3 separate regions of the Homo sapiens genome follow, and regions 1 and 2 are each linked to region 3. Evidence: promoter capture Hi-C in human tissues and cell types (Jung and others, 2019). All regions are on one chromosome and are shown on one strand. Each heading gives the region's core, a stretch centred on a gene start or on the middle of the fragment in contact. The rest is flanking DNA. Distances are from core to core; before and after follow the strand shown.

The links. The method cuts DNA at HindIII sites, captures the fragments that hold promoters and counts their contacts. A contact is called where the count stands out against the background at its distance.
Region 1: a fragment that was not itself captured here is called in contact with the fragment with the promoter of PPIB in region 3 in 5 of the 25 tissues and cell types used here (IMR-90 fibroblasts, bladder, hippocampus and 2 more).
Region 2: a fragment that was not itself captured here is called in contact with the fragment with the promoter of PPIB in region 3 in 4 of the 25 tissues and cell types used here (IMR-90 fibroblasts, bladder, lymphoblastoid cells and 1 more).

What each region holds. Positions count from the first base shown.
Region 1 is chr15:64,273,233-64,277,538 of GRCh38, forward strand. All of the region lies in intron 2 of CSNK1G1 (casein kinase 1 gamma 1), which reads right to left. Among named protein-coding and RNA genes, the nearest start is that of CSNK1G1, 81 kb to the right of the region's middle. The HindIII fragment of the contact is 3,728 bases long and covers 949-4,306 here.
Region 2 is chr15:64,245,724-64,250,065 of GRCh38, forward strand. All of the region lies in intron 4 of CSNK1G1 (casein kinase 1 gamma 1), which reads right to left. Among named protein-coding and RNA genes, the nearest start is that of PPIB, 85 kb to the left of the region's middle. RefSeq lists enhancers at 256-756, 757-1,257, 1,378-1,437, 2,327-2,621. The HindIII fragment of the contact is 4,593 bases long and covers 1-3,872 here.
Region 3 is chr15:64,161,507-64,166,247 of GRCh38, forward strand. PPIB (peptidylprolyl isomerase B) reads right to left here and starts at 1,516. Exons shown (of 5, transcript NM_000942.5): 1 at 1,346-1,516; 2 at 535-648. The coding sequence starts at 1,480. It overlaps CSNK1G1 (casein kinase 1 gamma 1), which reads right to left. Exons shown (of 12, transcript NM_022048.5): 12 at 4,019-4,741. RefSeq lists enhancers at 75-639, 873-1,373, 1,181-1,430, 1,374-1,874, 1,981-2,030 and a silencer at 1,481-1,840. The HindIII fragment of the contact is 5,042 bases long and covers 417-4,741 here.

The DNA.
Region 1 (4,306 bases), core at 1,563-4,062, 110 kb after region 3:
ACAGATGTATTGAAACATCACACTCTACCCCATAAGCATGTACAATTATTATGTGTCAGTTATAAACAAAATAAAAAATATTAATCTGGCCCCAATGTATAAAACAGAAGTGAATGAGGTAATTAGAAAGAAGATGAATAAAATGTTTTTATAACAGAACATATAAAGAATAACTATTTCACAGAGCTTTATGAAGATGATAGAATATGTGTAAATATTTTGTAAACTGCAAGGTGCTAGATAAGTCTAATTTTTATTACTTCTATTATTATAGCAGAGAAGAGGTAATAATTCCTAAGAGGACTAGAATAGGATCTTCATGCAAGGTATTTTGAAGGAAAACCTAACAACGTTTGGATTACATGTAATGTGAGGGATAAGGAAAACGGAAGGGTCTAAATGAGGGGTGTCCAACCTTTTGGCTTCTCTGGGCCACACTGGAAGAATTGTCTTGGGCCACACATAAAATACATGAACACTAACAAAAGCTGATGAGCTAAAAAAAAAAAAAAAAAAAATCACATAATGTTTTAAGAGAGTTTGCAATTTTGTGTTGGGCTGCATTCAAGGCTGTCCTGGGCCACACGTGGCCCACAGGCCACAGGTTGAACAAGCTTGGTCTAAATGATGCTCTTAATTAGCGGAGAACAGACTTAGTTAGGAGAGTAAACAATATCATTCCACGCTACTATGATGCATTCCTGCAAATTCTCACTAAACCTAAAAGTGATAGACAAATTATAAAATGCTTCTTAGCTTCTATTTTCACATGTATATAAAAGAGTATAATCACAGAAGTATAATAAGTGAGACAAGCCTATGTAACACCCAACATAGTGGCTGATACATCACAAAATGCTAGCTTGCGTTTACTTAATTTCTCTAAGGGCACCAAAAGAATCAAATACATGTTACCCTTTTTCTTAAGAGGCACTGGAGGTGACTTGATAAGTCTCCTGAGCTAAGCATTGCCTCAAATGAATTTCTTTGCAAGGGCACAAATGCATCATTAAAATTTTACAGGTCAACACAAAATGCAGCCATGTTTCAGAAATTTAGACAATCACTCAGCCACTATCCTAAATAATACACAGTACTCAAAAATTTTGCTCCAGATGAATTTAATTACAAAGATTATGTTAAAACCCTGCCCATTTAAAATAAATAACTGCTTCAGCTAAAAAAATAAAAATAAAAGCATACCAATAACTATGAGGAAGGAAAGCCATTTAATGGACAGAAAAGTACCATTGATGAGCTGGCACAATCCCAAGCACTGAAAGCTTTTAGTATCTGTTGCACAAAATCCACAACGCTTCCCAAGCTCACTTCCTGGCTATTGGTTCCTTTATTCTTAATAGAAAAGGAACTGCATTACACAGTAGTTTTTGGAGCTTTATATTTAAACTCAGCCCTTTCAAAGCAGCAGTCCTGGATGTGATGCTGTCCATAAAACCCTCTGCATGAAGACTTCCTGTTTCTGTAAGTCACCTACAGAGACAACATTCACCGTAAGCTTCATCAGACACTGCATTATTTCAAAGAACTAGGAGTTCTCAGTTCTCAGAGCCATACTGATAAAGGAACATACAGTCTGTTTAGTTAGAGCTCCAGCTGTCACATTTTCTTGCCCTTCAGTGAAAATAGTACATGTATAAATTACTACCTAGAACTTGTAAAAAATCCAGCCAAATGAACTTGAGGCAATTAGTAGTTAAAACAAGTAACTACTTTTATATAACTCAGATGATTACCATGTCTATTTAGGGCAAAGAGGACAGGTTGGCCTATTGCCACCTCCACCCAAAAAGCATCTCTTCTTTTTGTGGAGACACAGTCTTGCTATGTTGCCCAGGCTGGAGTGCAGTGGCATGATCTTGGCTCACTGAAACTCTGCCTCCCAGGTTCAAGCAATTCTCCTGCCTCTGCCTCCCGAGTAACTGGGATTACAGGTGCATGCCACCACACCCAACCAACTTTTGTATTTTAGTAGAGATGGGTTTCACCTTGTTGCCAGGCTGGTCTCAAACTCCTGACCTCAGGTGAGCCTCCCGTCTGGGCCTCCCAAAGTGCTGGGAGGCATGAGCCATCTTGCCCGGCCCAAAGAGCATCTCTTTAAGTGAGCAGTATGATTAGGGGTAAGAAGATAACGATAGCAATACAACTCTAAAGAAAAAAAGCAGATAATGTTTTCACTTTTACTAACTTAATAGTATTAAAATATTAGTATACTATGCAGAAACATTTCCCAAATGATTAGTAGTTAAGGCAAGAATAATTTTTTCTTGTGTCAAGTTTTTTAAAGGGCTTACCTATCAACAACAATAAGTACATTATAATAAAAGAAAAACTTATTAAAGCTTAATATCACTGGGATGGTATATACAGCATGTTTATTATTAACAAGACAGACAATGCTCAAATGTTTTCTAAAGTGTAGAACATGATCCATTAGTGGGATATAAAGTAAATACATTCAAATATTGATTTTAAAGAATGTCTTGACCAAATTTTTTAAAGAAAAAATATATAAAATAAAAAGTATCAGAGTACATTATACTCAGTAAGGATAAAATATTATTTCATGAAACTTCATATACACAGATATTAACTATGTGTATATTAAATCACAATTTTTTTAGTGTGAGTTATGATCAAAGAATAATAAGAGCCATCAATAAAAATCTTCTAAAAAGCAGTTTCAATTATTTCATTTTGCAATGAAAAGCTGGTCAGTGGCTGGACTAGTTTCTATATAACTTTCCTAAGGTATTACACATGATATTCTGATTAATCTGTTAGTAAGAAAAATGAGAGTGCTTCTAACATCTGAAAGTCTAAAGTGAGGCTACGTGGAGTGAGGTAAAAGGCAGCCAGGGCCAAAAGAAAGGGAGAAGTTGAAAGTCATTTATAAATAGCATCAAAGCAGGACTCATACTCCATTTTTCAGAAAGTGTCTATGTACTTTCAAGGGCCTATGCTTTACAAAGAAAATTTGTAAAATGTTCTATATTATAGTGGTGGGCAGAAAAACTGGAGTGAATCATTCTAGAAAGTATGATTTTCTGCAGCAGAGAAATACCAAAGTATTTTTGTATTTTTAAAATTTTTATGCATAACTTCAAAGGCATATGATTTTCCCCCATGTAACCTACCCAATTTCAGTAACTTTATTATTTTGAAACAAATCTCAGATGTTACATCATTTTATCAGTAAATATTTCATTATGGGTCTGAAACAGAATTGAAGTACTTTTTCAGAACAGACGGATCATTTATTATTTGAAGACCTCTAGAATATGAATGTGGAAAATTAAAAGGTCAAATGGGAACCCATGAAAATGAAAAAGAGTGACGTACCAATGAGATATTTCAGCCACCCAGGTAGGAAAAAAAAGGTACAACAGTCCTTTGAAAAATAAAAGAGTTGAGGCTGGGCACGGTGGCTCACGCCTGTAATCCCAGCACTTTGGGAGGCCGAGGCAGGTGGATCACGAGGTCAGGAGATCGAGACCATCCTGGCTAACACAGTGAAACCCTGTCTCTAATAAAAAATACAAAAAAATTAGCTGGTGGTAGTGGCGGGCACCTGTAGTCCCAGCTACTTGAGAGGCTGAGGCAGGAGAATGGTGTGAACCCGGGAGGCAGAGCTTGCAGTGAGCCAAGATCGCACCAGTGCACTCCAGCCTGGGTGACAGAGCGAGACTCCATCTCAAAAAAAAAAAAAAAAGAAAAAGAAAATAGTTGAAAGTGAAAAAACAATCATGAACAGAGTTCAAGGTAAAGCAATCAATTCCGGAAGAACTAGAACCATGCAACGTCAGTGACTTGAACTTGATCATTAGACAAAATAGTCAAATATATTTTCCTGCCAATAAGAATATAGACCTCTATTCTAGACAGTGATGCAAGTTTTGAGAGGAAATATAGATGTTATTAATAAAGTTGGAGGCTGGGTGCTGTGGCACAAACCTGTAATCCAAAAACTTTGGGAGGTCAAGGTGAGAGAATCACTTGAGGCCAGGGGTTTGAGATCAGCCTAGGCAACAAAGTGAGACTCTGCCTCCACAAAAAAATTAAATAATTAGCCAGGCATTGTGGTGCACCCTTCAGCCCTAGCTACTTGGGAGGCTGAGATGGGAGGATCCTTTGAGTCCAGGAGTTCAAGGTTACAGTGACCTGTGATTGCACCACTGCACTCCAGCCTGGGCAACAGAGTGAGACCCTGTCATTCATTCATTCATATGTACATACATAAAATAATACATATACACACACTTTTACCCCTGCTACAAGTTTTCATATT
Region 2 (4,342 bases), core at 326-2,825, 84 kb after region 3:
GCGAGACCCCGGTTCTCCACAAAAAGGAAAAAAAAAAAAGACACACACACAAAAAAAGAATGAAATTCTGTCATTTGCAGCAACACAGATGGAACTGGAGGCCTTTATAATAACTGAAATAAGGTAGGCAGGGAAAGACAAATATCACATGTTCTCGCTCATGTGAAAACTTAAAAAGTTGATCTCATATAGAATGATGGTTACCAGAGGCTGGGAATGGTTGGGTGTGGGGAGGATGAAGAGAGCTTGGTTAATGGGTACAAACATACAGTTAGAAGCAATAAATTCTAGTGTTGATAGCACAGCAGAGTGACTATAGTTAACAATAATTTATTGTATATTTCAAAATAGCCAGAAGAGTAGATTTGAAATGTTCCCAACACAAAGAAATGGTAAATGTTTGAGGTAATGAGTAGCTTAACCACCCTGACTTGATAATTACACATAGATATGCATGTATCAAAATATCACATATATCCCATAAATAGGTATATTATGTATCAATTTTAAAAATGAACCGCCTACTAGGTATTTAACAAGTTAACTGGCTTTCTCTGCCCAATGAGATTTTGTTTTGACTACTGCATTTGTGAAGTTTCAACTGGGGTCTTGTTAAGGCTGGACACAGTGGTTCATGCCTGTGATCCCAGCACTTTGGGCAGCCAAGGTGAGAGGATCACCTGGGGCCAAGAGTTCAAGACCAGCCTGGTCAACATAGTGAGACTCCATCCCTACAAAAAACTAAAAATATTAGCCAGCTATGGTGCATTGCGCCTGTAGTCCCAGCTACTTGGGAGGCTGAGGCGGGAGGATGACTAGAGCCAAAGAATTTGAGGCTGCAGCAAGCTACGATTGCACCACTACACTCTAGCCTCAGAATCAGAGCAAGAGTCCGTCTCTTTAAAAAAAAAAAAAAGGGGGGGGGGGAGGAATCTTGTCATTTTTTAATTTGAGGATTAGCTTCTCCTTTATAAGAGAGCCAAATCAGAAGAGTCACTAGATTACAATAGCTGCTGGGAAGCCAGGATATGGGAGCCTAGACTTAGAAATTTCAGGTTATGTCAGAGACCTCCATTTTCCTGTCATTTACTGCAAAGAATCCTATTATCCTGCCGTTTACCTACCCTCTAAACCCTCAATCCTCTTTCATTTGCTCTGGTCCTTGCTGACTCATCCCCTCCCTCCCTTTTTCCTCCCACTTCAGCTGCATGCTTGGTTCTGGCTTATTCATCTTCTAGTCAATTAACGAACATATACCACGCTGTTGTCATGTGGTCAGCTATGGAGTCATTCTCATACTGTCACTCTTCCTAATACGGATCTGTTTCGGCCACAGACTCTTTCATATCTCTGCCCCAAACCTCTCATCCACCAAATCTTGTTCCTGTGTGCTAGAATACAAGCAAAACTGAGAGCTATGCTGGAAAAAAGATTTATGGATTGGAAAATTTTTAAATTGATAATGTATGTATCTTCCTAAGTAAAAGACCCTAAGGAAATACTGAAACCTAAAATCATTCCCATAAAAAGAAAAGAAATTAAAACTTGCCTATGGTGACCATAATACAATTAACATAACATTGATGATTGAAGAAAATAAGAAAAATAGTTATAAGATTTTACAATTTGGTTTCTATAAGAAATGAAAAAATGATAGCTAACAGGAAAATAAAATGCTTATTCTCAGTTTCAAGGTTCTCATGGTCCCCTTTACTTTCTTCCCTGATTATCTTGGAGATATCAATTCTTAAGCATTAAGTCTTGAAAATCTTGGTGGTAAAACTGTAATCAAGAAACAAAGCTTGAAAAGTGTGACCACTCACTAGAAAACAAAGTGGAATGGAAGAGAAAGAGTTAGAGATCACACAAGGAAAAGCAGAGACAATGTGGAAGACCTCCAACCAGAACCACATTCACAATTACCCAGTGCTGTCATTTTTGTTCTATCTCTACATAATTAGAGAATTGGTATGAATTTCTAGATCAGGTCATCAATGTGAAACTGGGGTCCAAAAGGCCAAGGTAATGATTAAGAGTTGGGTACTGAAGAAAATGGTCATAGTCCCAGGACAACAAAAAGTTCCTATTTTAGGAATTTAATGTCTCAAGCTCTGGATATCACAGCAATAGGTATTCTTTAAATTCATAATCAATCATTTTTCCCAAATAATTTCATACATTTATAAGCAATGATTAATTCACTGAACAAACCTAAGTCACAATGGGCTTTTTGTTTAAGTATTCATTGTCAGGAAATCCAAATATTTTATAATTCACTGGACAGTAATGAACAATGACAGACAAAACACTAGTGAGTAAAAACACTAATTATGTTACTGTGGTCTTTGTGTGGCTTTGGCACAAAAGGTTGTTTATTTACAATGCTGCAACATCACCTTGGTAATCAAAAGAGTGGCATATGCGCACTGGCTGCTCAAACATTAACTACCAATGAGTCATACTTGCAGCTGAGAACTTACTCTGAAAAAATAGGGGGAGGAATGCTGTGCCTCTAAGTTAAAAACAAGCTCTGGTGTTCATGCTCACATTTACAAGGACACATGGTGAAATCTTGTCTATTTTCTTGTCAATTGATCTTCTTTCAAAATAAATTTCCTTTTTTTAACCATCACAAGGAATATTTTTATTAATAACATTGGTAAAAATCTAAAAAGGCAAGCTTATTAAATCTTTCTAACTTCTTTCTGCCACTGAACTACTTGCTGACTGCTATGTGACAGAATGACATCACACCAGGCCTTAAGATACGCTTGAGATACAAGGGTAAAGAAGACACAAGGCTTGTTTTCAAGGAGCTTATAATCTTATGGCAGGGAGTGGGGAGAGTGGGACCAATATGCAATTACAATAAAAAAATAGTCAATGCCTAATCATCAATAGGATAATATAATCAGGATTTTAAAAATATCCCAATGTTCTTCCTCATCTGGACTCTGGAAAAAATAAAATAAAAAATATGGCCAGGCACGGCGGCTCACATCTGTAATCCCAGCACTTAGAGAGGGCGAGGCAGGCAGATCACGAGGTCAGGAGATCAAGACCATCCTGGCCAACATGGTGAAACCCCGTCTCTACTAAAAAAATACAAAAAATTGGCCAGGCGTGGTGGCTCACGCCTGTAATCCCAGCACTTTGGGAGGCCGAGGCAGGCGGATCACGAGGTCAGGAGATCGAGACCATCCTGGCTAACATGGTGAAACCCCGTCTCTATTAAAATTACAAAAAAAAACTAGCTGGGCATGGTGGCGGGCGCCTGTAGGCCCAGCTACTCGGGAGGCTGAGGAGGAGAATGGCGTGAACCCGGGAAGCGGAAGTTGCAGTGAGCCGAGATAGTGCCACTGCACTCCAGCCTGGTGACATAGCAAGACTCCATCTAAATTTTAAAAATAATAAATATATAAATAAATGGCAAACTTGGGCCTAATATGAAGAACTTCAAATACACTGGACTTTCCCACATTAAATTAGCCTGAAGAGTGGTGAACTCTATGATTAGAACTAAGTAGTCAAGCCGATTTAGATGACTGTAAGAAAATCCTAAAAGTAATTCTTACACTAGCGGGTAGGGGTAGCAAGGGGATTTGAAACAGAAAACTAAAGCACTTCCTATCTTGGAAAAGTCTGCAGCTACCTTGTTAGTTGCAGGCAAGGGTATTAAGATGATGCCCACCGCAGCTATTTTAGAAGTAGTGGGTGATCTCAAGAAGCAGAAAAGAGGCCAGTAGTCACCACTGAACTGCATATAGGACCTAGAAGGCTTTGTGACCTTTACATGTTTGTTAGAAAAGGTACTGGGAGACAGACCAACGATGGCCAGCCTACCTGACTATGAGTCAACAGTTGGCCTAACCAGTACAACAGAGCCCTCCTATTCCCACTCATGACAATGATGGATATACCAGTCTCAGAGATTCCAGTTTTTCCTTGCTGCTTAAGTGAAAAGCAATTTGTATAGTCACCTTTCCTCTAATGCCCTCCCTGTTTACTCCTCGCTTTCAGTGCACAGAGAATGCTGAAACTTCAAGAGCTTGCAATTTTCTGTATTTGGGAAGAGTACCAACCCAGCAGCACAGATGTTATTCCTACCTAACAAATACATTAGATTTTTTTTGGCTCTATATTGAAAAGGGAAGATTGGTCTGATTTGGTGGATCTATTTGAAAGGGCTTACAGAGGAAATCCTGAAAACTGGCCTGTCCACTTCCCCACTTAAACTTCTAAGCTGGACTGGATTAAGCATGTTGTTACCTGACCCTTGGATTTATGAGACATATACAAACATGCTTATCATAAATGGGCTGTGACAGTCTTTTCCCTAAAA
Region 3 (4,741 bases), core at 266-2,765:
CCAGAGGTCAGGAGTTCGAGTTCAGCCTGGCCAACATGGTGAAACCCTGTCACTACTAAAAATACAAAATTAGCCAAGCGTGGTGGCGCATGCCTGTAATCCCAGCTACTCAGGAGGCTGAGGCAGGAGAATCACTTAAACCCGGGAGGCGGAGGTTGCAGTGAGCTGAGGCCGCACCACTGCACTCCAGCCCAGGCGACAAGAGTGAAACTCCGTCTCAAAAAAAAAAAAAAATTTGCGGGGGTAGAGACAGGGTCTTGCTATGTTGCTCAGGTTGGCCTTGAACTCCTGGGCTCAAGCAATCCTCCTACTTTGGCCTCCAAAAGTGCTGGGATTTTAAGTGTGAGCCACTGTGCCTGGTCAGGGCCCCATTACTCTTAAGAAAGGGCAATACTGTGTTCCCAGGGCAACAGGCAGTCGGTGCTCAGTGAGGTCCACGCTACAGATCGGCTGAACTCTGCAGGTCAGTTTGCTGCCATCCCCAGTGCCAATTTCACTTCATGTGAGTTGACTACCCCTGCTCCAGCCACTTACCTCTCCTGTAGCTAAGGCCACAAAATTATCCACTGTTTTTGGAACAGTCTTTCCGAAGAGACCAAAGATCACCCGGCCTACATCTTCATCTCCAATTCGTAGGTCAAAATACACCTGAGGAAAGAGACCATTTCCAACTTAGCTTCTTTAAAGGGGCGTTGCTAGGGGAGGGAAGGTACAAGAAGCTAACCTGAGGATGGGAGAGAGAATAGAGCCATATTTTTAGAGAAGTGGTTCTGAATCTGATTTTGGTGACGGTAAAAATCCTATGAGAATCTAATGAAAGCTCCAGACCCTTTTCTTGGAAAACATGCTTATCTATACCCTCCTTGGACTACAGGATAACAATATTTGCTCTAAACAGCTAATGGACCCAGATTCTAAAAATTAACATTAGAAAACCCATAAGGAGCGGAGCCTAAGTTCACCACTTAAGTTTGAAGTATACATACTGTGCTTTGTAATTGGAAGTGGCTAAAATTTGGCTTAAGGAGAGAAAGGATTCGGAATCCGGCAGGCGTGATCTTTCACCATCTCCCCAGCACTGAGGGGTGTTTGCAAAAAGCCTGCTCTGAGACTGCCAGTGTCGGCCCCAGATGGGTATCCGGGGATCCAACTAACTCCCTGGGTCAGGGCAGGGGCTGGGGGTGTCGGGGTGGGTCCGGGTCGTTCCCTGGACTGAATGGGCAGGACGGCCCAGACGCCACGAGGCCACAGACAGAAGCCGAGGGAGGAGGGGCTGAGCCAAGGCCAAGCCAAGGCCGCCCGGGCCCGAGCTCCGGCACCGTAAATGCCGCGGACTCCACCGGACCTTGACGGTGACTTTGGGCCCCTTCTTCTTCTCATCGGCCGCAGAAGGTCCCGGCAGCAGCAGGAAGAAGACGGACCCCGCGATGAGGGCGGCGGCAAGGAGCACCTTCATGTTGCGTTCGGAGAGGCGCAGCATCCACAGGCGGAGGCGAAAGCAGCCCGGACAGCTGAGGCCGGAAGAGGGTGGGGCCGCGGTGGCTAGGGAGCCGGCGCCGCCACGCGCGGGTGGGGGGGACTGGGGTTGCTCGCGGGCTCCGGGCGGGCGGCGGGCGCCGTTTCCCCCCTCCGGCTCGGCGCCGGATAGTAGGTCCCCCTGCGGGGCGGGCACCGACGCGGGCTCGTGGGTGGTTGCCACGTTATTGCTCCCTCATTGGGCTCCCGGCCGCCCTCTCCCGCCCACAGGAAGGCCACCGGCGGAAGGCGGCCTCGCAGAGCACGGGCCCGGGCTCCGAGAAGACCACAAGCCCCGGCATGCTCCGCGGCCCGCCCCGCCCGGAGCGCTGTTCCACTGGCCTGCGGTAGCTGGCGCTTGAGGTTAGCAAATACGTGGGCCTGGACAAGGGGCACGGGAAGCTTGTCACTGTTTTGGGCCAGTCAAGTGTTTGTCACCGCCAAATTGGCTCTAAACGTTGTGGCTTCCAAACACTTCAGGGACATTTATCCTTACCGAGCGTGGCCTTGTACGGCTCCTCCACTTGTCTTGCAAAACTTGCTGCACAACCCACTTCCTTTTTTACTGAGGCCGTCAAGTTACTACCCATTTTTCTCTCCCTTCTGTAATCTTGCTGTGCTTACTGTTGTGTATATCAATGGACATCTTATTGTATACGCTGTTCTTAACTTCCTTTACCTTTTCCCCCAATAGACTACATTTTTTTTTTTTTCTGCGGAAGGGACTGTGTTGCATTTACTCTGTCCACAGCTCCCTCACAGCGCGGCAGTACTGAGTGCCCAACAAGTCCTGGTTGGGATAGCTTCACATCCGCACTGACATGAGAAATAATTTATGCCACGGCCTGAGGATACAATGCCTTTTTCCGGAGGTCAGGAATAGTTACTAGATGTCCCCACAGGGCTATTTTAGGTCTTCACACACTTAGTGTTGTCCCAATCTACAACATAGATACTTTGGTACTGGGAGTCTTACACACCAAAACAAACCAAAACACAAACTTCCAAAATTTGGACCTATGGCGTTAAAACGTCTTTAAAACTAATTTTCAACGATTAACTTCGTAGAAATTCCAGGTCGTCACAGCACAGATTATAGGCAGGGCTCCATTTACATAAATTATGCAATGTAGTCTTCATGAGGCGCTGACCTGAGACTGAAGTTATGCAAGGCCACTGGCATTAACTTTGTTGTTCATTACAGCGGCCTTACACAGGTTGTAGAGCTTCAAGACAGTTCTCTTATTTCCCATCCTTGCACCTCAATTCAGACAACCCCAATCAGGAGGAAGTTTTAAACATTGTTATACTGACAAAGATGATCTTCCAGATCCATCTCTCATCCCTTTTTTTTTTTTTTCTCCTATTTTGTTAAGCCTCTTTCTTCACTCACTGGTCTCAGGCTGCCATAGCCAGAGAAAAATGTTTACTAAATCATGTTTTCAAAGTAGCCTCCAGCTGGGCACAGTAGCTCATACCTGTAATCCCAGCACTTTGAGAGGCTGTGGCAGGCAGATGACTTGAGTCCAGGAGTTTGAGCCTGGGCAACATGGTGAAACCTGTCTCTACAAAAAATACAAAAATTAGCAGGGCGTGGTGGTGCGCATCTGTAGTCGCAGCTACCCCAGAGGCTGAGGTGGGGGAATCACCTGAGCCCAGAAGGTCAAGGCTGCAGTGTACTGTGATCGTGAAACTGCACTCCACCCTGTCTCAAAAACAAAGAAACACTCAAAAAACCCAAGTAGCCTCCTGCACATGAGGAGCTAAGGCTAAAATGGCATCACAGCAGCCTTTCTCCCACTCCCACTTTCAAAAGAAATCAGGTTGATGGATAAAATGCTCTCAATGTGAAACTTTTCTCTCATGATTCTTCCACTGCTACCTGCCTGTGAAAAAGTAATTAAAGAGTAGTAACAAACTGGAAGGAGTCAATCATGCCCAGATTGACAGTTGTTCTGTTGGCTACATATGCAGTATGGTTTTACATTGCTCATCATAGTTCTATCTTCTGTCTGGACACATATTCCGCATTTGTAGAGGAGAATTATAAAGCTACTAAAGTTGTTCCACAGAGCAGATCCTGATTTCCTGTGTTCTACCACCTGAGAACAACAGGGACCCAGGAACTAACGTATGAGTGATAATGTCCAAATTCTTCCAGGAATATTTATTTATTTGAGACGGAGTCTTGCTCTGACGTCCATGCTGGAGTACAGTGGTGCGATCTTGGCTCATTGCAAACTCCACCTCCTGGATTCAAGCAATTGGCCTGCCTCAGCCTCCTGAGTAGCTGGGATTACAGGTGTGCACCACCACGCCCAACTAATTTTGTATTTTTAGTAGTGACAGGGTTTCACCATGTTGGCCAGGCTGGCCTCGAACTCCTGACCTCAAATGATCCACCCGCCTTGGCCTCCCGGAGTTGCTGGGATTACAGGTGAGAGCCACTGCGCCTGGCCAATATTTATTTTTTTAATTAAAAAATAATTTTCTTCTTCAGCACTCGAAGAGAGACAGCAGTATTTATTTTTGAAGTGACTCACAGGAGAAGACAATATTTAATCCAAGGAATGAAACAAGAATGCCAAATTATTTTTGTTCACAGGAGTCTTGAATCGCATCAAAGTTAGTCCTAGCTAGATTGTTAATTACAAATGAGCCGAGGGAGATTAAAAACAGACAAACCAATCAACCAACCAAACAAGCAGAAGTAGCCAAGAAAGGTAAGACATTTTATTTTACATACAAAAAGGGTGCAAACTGAGTCCTTTCCTCCCCAAACTGGGGAAGAGGTATACTTAAAGATCACATTTGTGTTTTCCATGGTGCCCTAGGAAATGGGCTACTCTGAGATCACATATCAGAACCCATTTTCCATTTTCTCCAAAGAAGGCTACTTCCTCTGCAGAGAAGATTTTCCTAATGGTGCACAAATATCTCTCCTGGAGGAACCATTTCAAATACACTTGAAATTGACATTCATGTTTAAAAATACTACAAATTTCATTTTCACAGCTGAGCTTTGTGACCAGTGCCAGGGTTTATGAAACATTATACATCTAAAAAAAAAAAAAGTAAAAAAAGAGGCATTTAACAATAATCAGACACATCCACACATTAAAACTGATTTCCACTGCTGATTTATACATTATCTAGTTGTTTAAAAATCGCAATCAACATCCCAACATCTTTTTAAGAGTACAATGGGCAAAGATCAAAGACAGAT